Linked DNA regions of Homo sapiens: region 1 is linked to region 2. Evidence: promoter capture Hi-C in 16 types of primary human blood cells and fetal thymus (Javierre and others, 2016). All regions are on one chromosome and are shown on one strand. The core of a region is centred on a gene start or on the middle of the fragment in contact, and the rest is flanking DNA. Distances in the headings are between cores, read along the strand shown. Region 1 overlaps CTCF (CCCTC-binding factor). Region 2 holds the start of CARMIL2 (capping protein regulator and myosin 1 linker 2).

The links. The method cuts DNA at HindIII sites, captures the fragments that hold promoters and counts their contacts. A CHiCAGO score of 5 or more calls a contact.
Region 1: a contact is called between a fragment that was not itself captured here and the fragment with the promoter of CARMIL2 in region 2, in 4 of 17 cell types (endothelial precursors, M2 macrophages, M1 macrophages and 1 more). The highest score is 7.3, in endothelial precursors.

What each region holds. Positions count from the first base shown.
Region 1 is chr16:67,589,923-67,594,977 of GRCh38, forward strand. The region is part of intron 2 of CTCF (CCCTC-binding factor); the gene reads left to right. Among named protein-coding and RNA genes, the nearest start is that of CTCF, 30 kb to the left of the region's middle. The HindIII fragment of the contact is 1,795 bases long and covers 374-2,168 here.
Region 2 is chr16:67,641,036-67,646,474 of GRCh38, forward strand. CARMIL2 (capping protein regulator and myosin 1 linker 2) reads left to right here and starts at 4,109. Exons shown (of 38, transcript NM_001013838.3): 1 at 4,109-4,251; 2 at 4,505-4,596; 3 at 4,689-4,742; 4 at 4,983-5,045; 5 at 5,151-5,275; 6 at 5,391-5,439. The coding sequence starts at 4,212. RefSeq lists a silencer at 3,803-4,192. The HindIII fragment of the contact is 10,344 bases long and covers 1-5,439 here.

The DNA of each region.
Region 1 (5,055 bases), core at 21-2,520, 54 kb before region 2:
CTAAAAATACAAAAATTAGCCTGGCATGATGGTGGGCATTTGTAGTCCCAGCTACTCAGGAGGCTGAGACAGGAGAATCACTTGAACGCAGGAGGCGGCCGTTGCAGTGAGCCAAGATGGCGCCATTGCACTCCAGACTGGTCAACAAGAGCGAAACTCCGTCTCAAAAAAAGAAAAAGAACAGTTAGAACTTTTTTTTTTTTTTTTAAAGAAGAGAGTTCCTTTCTACAGCAGCGTCAGCCACCTTTTGGCGAAAGAATTATTGTCTAGCCTTTATTATTCTTTGTAGCAAAAGAACTCCTTCCCCTCCTCCCATACTAGTTTCACTGTTGCCATTACAAATATTTTATTAGTACGTATTTCCTAGATTCAAAGCTTCAGTGGGCTTTCTTCAAGTAGCTGTTAGAATAATTGTTTTGTTTTGACCATACCCTTTAATATTAACAAATGGGAGGGGAGATTGTTAACAAAATACTAGAATGCTCTTAACTTTTTTTTTAACTTAGAAGAAACATTTTCATTTCCCTTTTAATTATTTCTACACACACACATACAAAAAGCCCTGTTATTTTATAATTTTTTATTTTTATTTTTTTAGTAGAGACAGGGTTTCACTGTGTTAGCCAGGATGGTCTCGATCTCCTGACCTTGTGATCTGCCCACCTCGGCCTCCCAAAGTGCTGGGATTACAGGCGTGAGCCACCGTGCCCGGCCCTAACTGTTCTTTTAAAAATTGGCCGAGCACGGTGATCGGCCAGGTGTGATGGCTCACACCTGTAATCCTAGCACTTTGGGAGGCTGAGGAGGGTGGATCAGCTGAGGTCAGAAGCTCAAGCCCAGCGTGGCCAACATGGCGAAACCCTGTCTCTACTAAAAATACAAATATTAGCCGGACATGATGTTTGGTGCCTGTAATCAATCCCAGCTACTTGGGAGGCTGAGGCGGGAGAATCGCTTGAACCCGGGAGGTGGAGGTTGCAGTAAGCTGAGATGGCACCATTGCACTCCAGCCTGGATGACAGAGTGAGACTCTGTCTCAAAAAAAAAAAAAAAAAAAAAAATGCTGGACTGGGTGGCTCACACAAATGCTGTGATTACAGGCGTGAGCCACCGTAATCCCAGCACTTTGGGAGGCCGAGGCGGGCAGATCACTTGAGGTCAGGAGTTTGAGACTAGCCTAGCCAACATGATGAAACCCCATCTCTACGAAAAATACAAAAATTAGCTAGTCGTGGTGATGCGTGCCTGTAATCCCAGCTACTCAGGAGGCTGAGGCTGAGAATTGCTTGAACACAGGAGGCAGAGATTGCAGTGAGCCAAGATCTCACCACTGCACTCCAGCCTGGGTGACAGAGCGAGACTCTGTCTCAAAAAATAAATGAAAATTAATGTCAGAGAAGTGAGAGGTACAGTTGTGATTAAATAGATGAGTGCTTTTTCAGATAAAGGCTGCTTCCGTTCCCAGTCACTGTGAAAGAAATGGTCACTATTATTTTTCTGCTTCTCAGCCCAAGTTATTCTCCCAATTCAACTCCTCCTCATTCTTTATTGTAGTCTACAACTTTCCTGGTACTAGTTCACTGATACTTTGCTTTGATGTATTTTAAGCTCTCAGATAAGATGATGGCGTATATGTTTTCAGGAATAGCAGAGTAAAATGGTTATTTTGTTTAACTTTTAAACCTAGCTTTTACTCTAAAAGAGTTAATAACTTTTATTCGTTTTGGCTAGTGTCCTGCATCTAGTAAAAGTTACTTAGCTTTTCCTTTCATCCTCAGGAAAAACTGATTACTTTTTTTGGGGGGGGGCAGTAAGGGCACAGAGTCTTGCGCTGTCACTCAGACTGGAATGCAGTGGTGTGATGATAGCTTACTGCAGCCTGGGCTCAGGCGATCCTCCCGCCTCAGTCCCGAGTAGCTGGGACTACAGATGGATGCCATCATACCTAGCTAATTTTTTTTTTAATTTTTAATGGAGACAAGGTCTCACTATGTTGCTCAGGCTGGTCTTGAACTCCTGGGCTCAAACGATTCTCTTGGCTCTGCCTCCCCAAGTACTGGGATTATATGTGTGAGCCACTGTGCCCGACCTGATGACTTATAATTGCTTTTTTTCCCCTCCTTGTCCTAATGTCATTTAACATTCTGTATAGTGAGAATACCAGACTAAGCTTTTCAGTCAACATTTTTCTAATGTAAAGATCTATCGACTGGACGCAGTGGCTCACACCTGTAAACCCAGCACTTTGGGAGGATGAGGCGGGCACATCACCTGAGGTCAGGAGTTTGAGACCAGCCTGGCCAACATAGTGAAACCCTGTCTCTACTAAAAATACAAAAATTTGCTGGGCATAGTGGTGTACGCCTGTGATCCCAGCTGCTCAGGAGGCTGAGGCAGGAGAATTGCTTGAACCCTGGAGGCAGAGGTTGCAGTGGCCGGGATTGTGCCACTGCGCTCCAGCCTGGGTGGCAGAGCAAGAATCTGTCTAAAAAAATAAATAAGGCCAGGCACAGTGGCTCATGCCTGTAATCCCAGTAATTTAGGAGGCTGAGGTGGGAGGATCACCAGAGCTCAGAAGTTTGAGACCATCCTGACCAGTATGGTGAAACCCTGTCTCTACTAAAAATATAAAAATTAGCCGGCATGGTGGCATGCGCCTGTAGTCCCAGCCACTCGGGAGGCTGAGACATTAGAATTATTTGAGCCCAGGAGGCGGAAGTCGCAGTGAGCCAAGATCGTGCCACTGCACTGCAGCCTGGGTGACAGAGTGAGACTCCGTCTCAAAAACAACAACATCAAAAAAAGATACTTACAGAGGCCAGGCGTTGGTGACTGGCTCAACGTCAGTAATCTCAGCACTTTGGGAGGCCGAGGTGGGTGGATCACTTGAGCTCAGGAGTTTGAGACCAGCCTGGCCAACATGGTGAAACCCCGTCTCTACTAAAAATACAAAAATTAGCGGGGCACAGTGGCATGTGCCTGTAGTCCCAGCTACTTAGGAGGCTGAGGCAGGAGAATCGGTTGAACCTGGAGGCAGGGGTTGCAGTGAGCCGAGATCGCGCCACTGCATTCCAGCCTGGGTGACAGAGTGAAACTCCATCTGGAAAAAAAAAATTTATATATATATGTATAAATGTTTAATATATATTTTATATTTATATATTTGTATATCTTTTTTATATTTTAATATATGGTTTTTAATATATATTTTATACATATAAAGAGAAAGGTGCAAGGTATCTTCTGTTCTCTTAAAATTTTTTACAATTTCAACTTTTATTTTAGATTCGGGGGTACATGTCCAAGTTTTTTTGTGTACATGGGTATATTGTGTGATTATGAGGTTTGGGGGTACAATTGTTGCTCATCACCCAGGTAATGAGCATAGTACCCAATGATTAGTTTTGCAGCCCTTACCCCGTTTTCTCCCTCCCCCTCCTAATCCCTAAGGCCTATTGTTATGTTTATGTCCATGTGTACCCAGTGTGTAGCTTCCACTTGTAAGTGAGAACATGAGATACTTGGTTTTCTGTTCCTGCCTTAATTCGCTTAGGATAATGACCTCCAGCTGCATCTGTGTTGCTGTAAAGGACATTATTTCATTCTTTTTTATGGCTGTGCGTTCTCTGCCTTCTTATGATGTCTGAGGGTTCGTATCAACCTCTGTTAGGCCATTTGTTAGGTACCCTTCATGTTGACTTTCAGAATTTCTGTGGCTTGTGAAAGTTCATGGGGTCTTAGAGCTGCTAATGTATTTCTTACCAAGAGAATGCAGATAGACTTCTGATCTCCCCAGGAAATAAGTTGGGGTTTTTAGCAATCAGTTGCCCCTTATAATGGATAGTAAGCAGTATATTAAAAAGTTGTGGGTTTAGTTATAAAATAGACTGCTGGAAATCATTCTCTTCTACTGTCTTATTCTCAGTACACATGGATTATTCCTAGTATAATAACCAGTCTACTTAACTGACTAAACTCTGCAGTGGTGAGTATAAAAGGTTGTTTTGGTTGTTTTCCTTTGGAAATTGTCTGACATATTTGCTATGTAGTCATAATCATAGGTGATAAATTACTAAACCTTAATATCTTCAAAAATTAGTGTATTCACAATTAGCTTCCATTTTTACATGGCAGGATTTTAAAAAATCTAACCTGTAATTGTGTTTTTGGGAATTTTTATTTTTCTCTATTAAGAAGTGACACAGGCTGAGCATGGTGGTTTATGCCTGTAATCCCAGCACTTTGGGAGGCCACTTGAGCTTAGGAGACCAGCCTAGGCAATACAGTGAGATCCCATCTCTGTAAAATAAAATGAACCAAGTATGGTGGCACATGCTTGTAGTCCCAGCTACTTGGGAGGCTGAGGTAGGAGGATCACTTGAACCCAGGATGTCAAGGCTGTAGTGAGCCTTGATTGTGCCACTGCACTCCAGCCTGAGCGACAGGGTGGGACCCTGTCTCAAAAAAAAAAAAAAAAGGTGTAAGAATTGACACAGGCTAGTTGCAGTGGCTCATGCCTATATTCTCAGCATTTTGTGGGGGATGAAGTGGGAGGATCCCTTGAGCCCAGGGGTTCGAGAACAGCCTGGGCAACATAATGAAACTTTGTCTTTCAAAGTTTCTAAACTTTGCATCACTAAAAAAATAGTGATGCGTAAAAAAACTTCGCATCACTAAAAAAATAGTGATGCAAAGAGAGCAATAAAGGTAAATTCGTATACTTAGGCTTTCACTTAGCATATAAACAGTGTTTTGTTTTTCCATGTTCCCTTCCTGCTCTTGTCCTGTGCAGGAACCATCTATACCTGTTTCATCTGACAAAGTCAGTGAGAATTCCTGTTTGTCTAACACTGTTTTGTATCCATTGCTGTAGAGACTACAGAAACAAAAGGCATAGTTACTGCCCTTAAAAAGCTAATACTGGGGGAAAAACACATAGAACATTATGCTACAGTTAAAACTTGTGGTCAGTTTGTACTGGTCAAGGTTGAGATGACTTTGATTTAGAAGGTGACTTGAGCTGGGAAGGGACAAGACATCAGATACTGATATAGA
Region 2 (5,439 bases), core at 2,859-5,358:
CAAAAGTGCTGGATTATAGGCATGAACCACCATTCCCAGCCACCTAAGCATATATAACCTCTTTGCAGAACAATGAGGCTCAGTTTTTCTGTATCTTCATTCAACACAGCCTGTCATTCCTGATTGTATACATTCTGTTTGAAAGGTTTTTGTTTGTTTGTTTGCTTGTTTGTTTGTTTTGAGATGGAGTCTCGGTCTGTTGCCAGGCTGGAGTGCAGTGGCGTGATCTCGGCTCACTGCAACCTCTGCCTCCCAGTTTCAAGCAATTCTCCTGCCTCAGCCTCCCCAGTAGCTGGGAATACAGGCACGCACCACCACACCTGGCTAATTGTATTTTAATAGAGACGGAGTTTCACCATGTTGGCCAGGATGGTCTCAATCTCCTGACCTCATGATCCGCCCGCCTCGGCCACCCAAAGTGCTGGGATTACAGGCGTGCACCACCATGCCCGGCCCTCTGTTAGAAAGTTTAAAAGTTTAAAAGTAGCCTCCCAGCTACTTGGGAGGCTGAGGCAGGAGAATTGCTTGAACCCGGGAGGCGGAGGTTGCAGTGAGCCAAGATTGCGCCACTGCACTCCAGCCTGGGTGACAGCGAGACTCCGTCTCAAAAAAAAAAAGTTTAAAAGTGGATTTGTTTTAGCTGGAGAGGGGGCAAGAGAATTGACATCCTGATGGAGTTAAGGCTGAAAAGGGATCCTCCTGCTGCATAGCCCAGGATGCATCCTGTCTGTCCCTTAATTATAAAACATTCAGCAGCAGAAGCCAGTTGTGTTACTGCTTCTGTTGACAGGGAAGTTCCTGAACCTGCATGCAGCTCCCTCAGTGTTAAGCCACAGAAGTAAAGAACCTTTGCCCCTTTCACCCCTAGGCTGGCATCACCCTATTGCTGCCCAGCTCAGCAAGTACCTGAACCCTTCTCTGACTTGTCAGGACCTGGTCTTTGAAAATCATCTGTGGTGAGCCTTATGGCAGCACCAAGGGGGCATAGCCCGGCCCACCTGGGAGGCAAGTCTCGCCCTCAGCCTGTGCTACCCAGAGCAGGCGAGGCTGATGCTCTCGGGAGCTTTGACATTTCCTGAATGCCCATGGAGTGGCATGCCATCCAGAACACAGACGGGCTTGAACAAGCTGACAGCTTCTCACTGAGTCACTGTCACTTGTAAGAACCGAGTCCCATGTGTTCACTTGGTCTCTGAGATCAGGTTTGCTGTGTTACTACCTCCCTGACCACCATCAGCCACGTGGCTAGCCCTGCAAGCCTGTCCAGATCTCTTAGTTGTCCCTGCCTGCCCCCATGTGCTCACACACACAGGGACTGGCCCCACTGGCATCGCTGCAGCCTCCAGAGGCCCTCCACCTGGGCATGGCTCCAGCCCTTTTGGCAGTCACTCTCATTTCTCTCTCCTCCTTGTCATTCTAAACAGAAAAATCCCAGTGAGGTGGATTTTCTGCCATTCTGTTTTGGAATCCCTGGGTTGTCATGGTAGACTTGGCAAATGTGAGTGTTATCTGAGTGCCAGGCACTGTTGCGGGCACTTCCCTTAATAAACATTGAATCCTTTGAGCAAGGCTTGAGGTTAGTTAATAGCTCCGGCTTACAAACAAAACTGGAAGACCAGAAAGGCTAAGCAATGTGTTCAGTGTCAAAATCTAGGCAGTGTGCCTGCAGAACCTGCTTTTTTTTTTTTTTGAGACGGAGTCTTGCTCTGTCGCCCAGGCTGGAGTACAGTGGTGAGATCTTGGTTCACTGCAACCTCTGCCTCCTGGGCTCAAGCAATGCTCATGCCTCAGCCTCCCCAGTAGCTGGGACTACAGGTGCCCACCACCACGCTTGGCTAACTTTTTGTATTTTAGTAGAGACAAGGTTTCACCATGTTGGCCAGGTTGGTCTCGAACTCCTGAGCTCAGGCGATCCACCTCGGCCTCCCAAAATGCTGGGATTATAGGCATGAGCCACTACACCTGGCCAGAACCTGCATTCTTGGTTCCTTGGCAGTACTGTGTGAGACCTACTGAATTGTCACCCTACAAGCAGTTTGAGGGTTCTGTGTGGTCTTAGAGCCTTAGATCTTAATCCAAATTATGTCTCTTCGTGGCCAGGCATGGTGTCTCACGCCTGTAATCCCAGCACTTTGGGAGGCCGAGGTGGGCAGATCACCTGAGGTCAGGAGTTGGAGACCAGCCTGACAAACATGGTGAAACCCCGTCTCTACTAAAAACATAAAAATTCCCTGGGTGTGGTGGCACATGCCTGTAATCCCAGCTACTTGGGAGGCTGAGGCAGAAGAATTGCTTGAACCCAGGAGGCAGAGGTTGCAGTGAACCAAGATCGCCCTACTGCACTCCAGCCTGGGCAACAAGAGCGAAGCTCTGTCTAAAATAATAATAATAATAATGATAATAATAATAATAATAATTAGCCCAGGCATGGTGGTGGGCACCTGTAATCCCAGCTACTCGGGAGACTGAGGCAGGAGAATTGCTGGAACCTGGGAGGCGGAGGCTGCAGTGAACCAAGATCGCCCTACTGCACTCCAGCCTGGGCAACAAGAGCGAAGCTCTGTCTAAAATAATAATAATAATAATGATAATAATAATAATAATAATTAGCCCAGGCATGGTGGTGGGCACCTGTAATCCCAGCTACTCGGGAGACTGAGGCAGGAGAATTGCTGGAACCTGGGAGGCGGAGGCTGCAGTGAGCCAAGATTGTGCCACTGCACTCCAGCCTGGACCACAGAGCAAGACTCTATCTCAAAACCAACAAACAAACCAAGTATGTCTCTTCAATCGGGGAGGCAGCAGGAACTCTCTGTGCTGCATCTTCTGCAGCTGACTCCTCCTTGTCACCCTTAGCTGTCATTTCACCTCCACCTTGCTGAGCTATGGGCAGGGTAGACTGCTGTTCCTTACCGCTTAAGTGGAGTTTAGATTGTAATAGAAGAAAAAAAATGCAGTCTCTTCCTGTGAACTTTCCAGAATCTAGGTCCTGGTCTTTGAGAGGGCAACAGGCTACCAGGCCCCACCCTATGACTGTCTGACCCCTCTCAGCCCTGGAGACACTGGCTTATTTCTCTCTCTCTGGCTGCCCCCTCCCAAACTCTCTCCAGCCTGGGGAGAAGGCAGACACAAGAAGACCCTCATGTACCTGGACGACTCACTCCGGCCCTCTATGAAGTGCTTGGGGTTCAGGGCTCACCTTAGCCCCAGGCTTCCCCCCGAAGGCTCCGGGTACACCCTCACCTTCGGCCCTGACCCCACCTCTGCGGCAAGGAAGGGCGTCTGGACCCATCAGGCTGTTTTTTTTTTTTTTTTTTAGACAGGACCTGGCTTTGTCACCCAGGCTGGAGTACAGTGGTGCGATCTCCGCTCACTGCAAACTCTGCCTCCCAAGCTCAAGTGATCCTCCCACCTCAGCCTCCCAAGTAGCTAGGATTACAGACACACGCCATCACGCCGTCTAATTTTGTAAATTATTTTGCAGAGACAGGGTCTCCCTATGTTGCCCAGCTTGGTCTCGAACTCTTTGGCTCAAGCGTTCCTCCTTCCTCGGCCTTCCAAAGTGCTGGGATTACAGGCGTGAGCCACCGCGCCTGGCCCCATCTGACATTTTTTCCCACCCATTCAAAATCTCTTGGATCCCTAACAGGGTCACGGACTCCAGGTTCGGAGCAACGGGCAGGACCTCCGGTGTTGGCAGAATTCGGGCGCTCCTTGCTGAACAGTCCCCCTTCTGCCAGGCGCCTCGTCCACCTCCGCAGCCTGGGCTTTGGAGGGGACCAGCCCCGGTGGGCCGCGGGGATCCCCAGGCAGGCAGCGTCCCCTGGTGTTCGCGGCAGGGACTGCGGGGCGGGGTGGAAGCCGGGGGCAAGGACCCGCTGGAGGCCCGCCACACCCGCGACCCTCCCGGCCACGCCACTGCCCACCCCGACGTCTACCCTGGCGGAGAAGCTCCTGGGCGACGGGGCGGGCGGGCAGGTGGGACTCGGCCCCCCTCCCACAACCCCGCTCCCGGGCAAGCTCTCGAGCCGCGAGGCCGGGGCGGGGAGGGGCCGGGCCGGGGGCGGCCTGGCAGGAAGCGGCGCGCACCTTCCGCCGCCGGAGGAGCAGGTGGCTGCCGTGCGGGTCTGGGCCCCAGGCTTCCTGTGTGCGCGCTCGTCCTCTGCTGTTTCCCGCCGGAGCTCGTTGGGCCTCCCCGGCCCGCCCGGCCCATGGCCCAGACCCCCGACGGCATCTCCTGTGAGCTCCGAGGTAAGCGCTGGCCCTTCCTGCCTTCTTGGCCGGGAGGAAGTAGTGCAGCCCCAAAATCAGAGGCCCACCCAGCGCCCCAGAGGGCCTGGTCAGAGGTCCTCCCTGCTCCCCAGGAGGGCAGGCGCCCCAGATCCTCTCCCCTCCTTCCTCGCTGGCCGCAGATAAGCCCCAGGGCCCCAGCCTGGCACAGACTGTGGGCACCAGTGGCTTCTGTGCAAGGACTGAAGTCACCCAGCAGGCTGCCCTTCCACAGGCGAGATCACCAGGTTCCTGTGGCCCAAAGAGGTGGAGCTGCTGCTGAAAACCTGGCTACCCGGGGAGGGTGCTGTGCAAAACCATGTCCTGGTATGGGGCAGGGGACAGAGCCGGGGAGGCGGCTGTGGCCCCACAGAAAGAGCCTCTTGCTCTGCCCAGGATATCAGACTGTCTTTCCCCAGGCACTGCTACGATGGAGAGCCTACCTGCTGCACACCACCTGCCTCCCGCTGAGGGTGAGTCCCAGGGCCTGGCCACACCCCCGCCCGCCAGCAGCTACCTTGGCAGGGGGCTGCATCTGCAGAGTGGTCCTTCTTGGCCTTGTGGGCCCTGACTTTGCACCAGCACTGGGCTCTGGGCAGCCGACAGGAGGGGAGTCCAGGCAGATCTGGCTCTGCCCCAGGCTGCCCAAAGGACTGGACTTCCATGAGGGCGGGGCTGGGGGCTTGGTCCCAGCTGATCTAGGCCCTTTCTAGGTGGACTGCACGTTCAGCTACCTGGAGGTCCAGGCCATGGCGCTGCAGGAGACACCCCCTCAGGTGAGACACCTAGTACCCTACCTGGGCCTGCAGCCTGGTCTTCATGCTACCACCATCACCTGCGCCCATGTGTGGAGCCGAGGCCTAGTAGTGCCCCTTCCCTAGGTCACCTTTGAGCTGGAGTCCCTGCGTGAGCTGGTCCTGGAGTTTCCTGGTGTGGCCGCCCTGGAACAGCTGGCCCAGCACGTGGCTGCAGCCATCAAGAAGGTCTTCCCTCGCTCGACCCTTGGGTGAGGCCTGGCAAATTCGAGGGGCTGGCAGGGGAGGAGGGAGTGCATGAGAAGGGCTGCTTCCCATCCCAGAGGCTGGAAGTCCTTTGCCCCCTTCTCCTTAACCCCCTACCAGGAAGCTATTCCGGAGGCCCACACCAGCCTCCATGCTGGCTCGGCTGGAG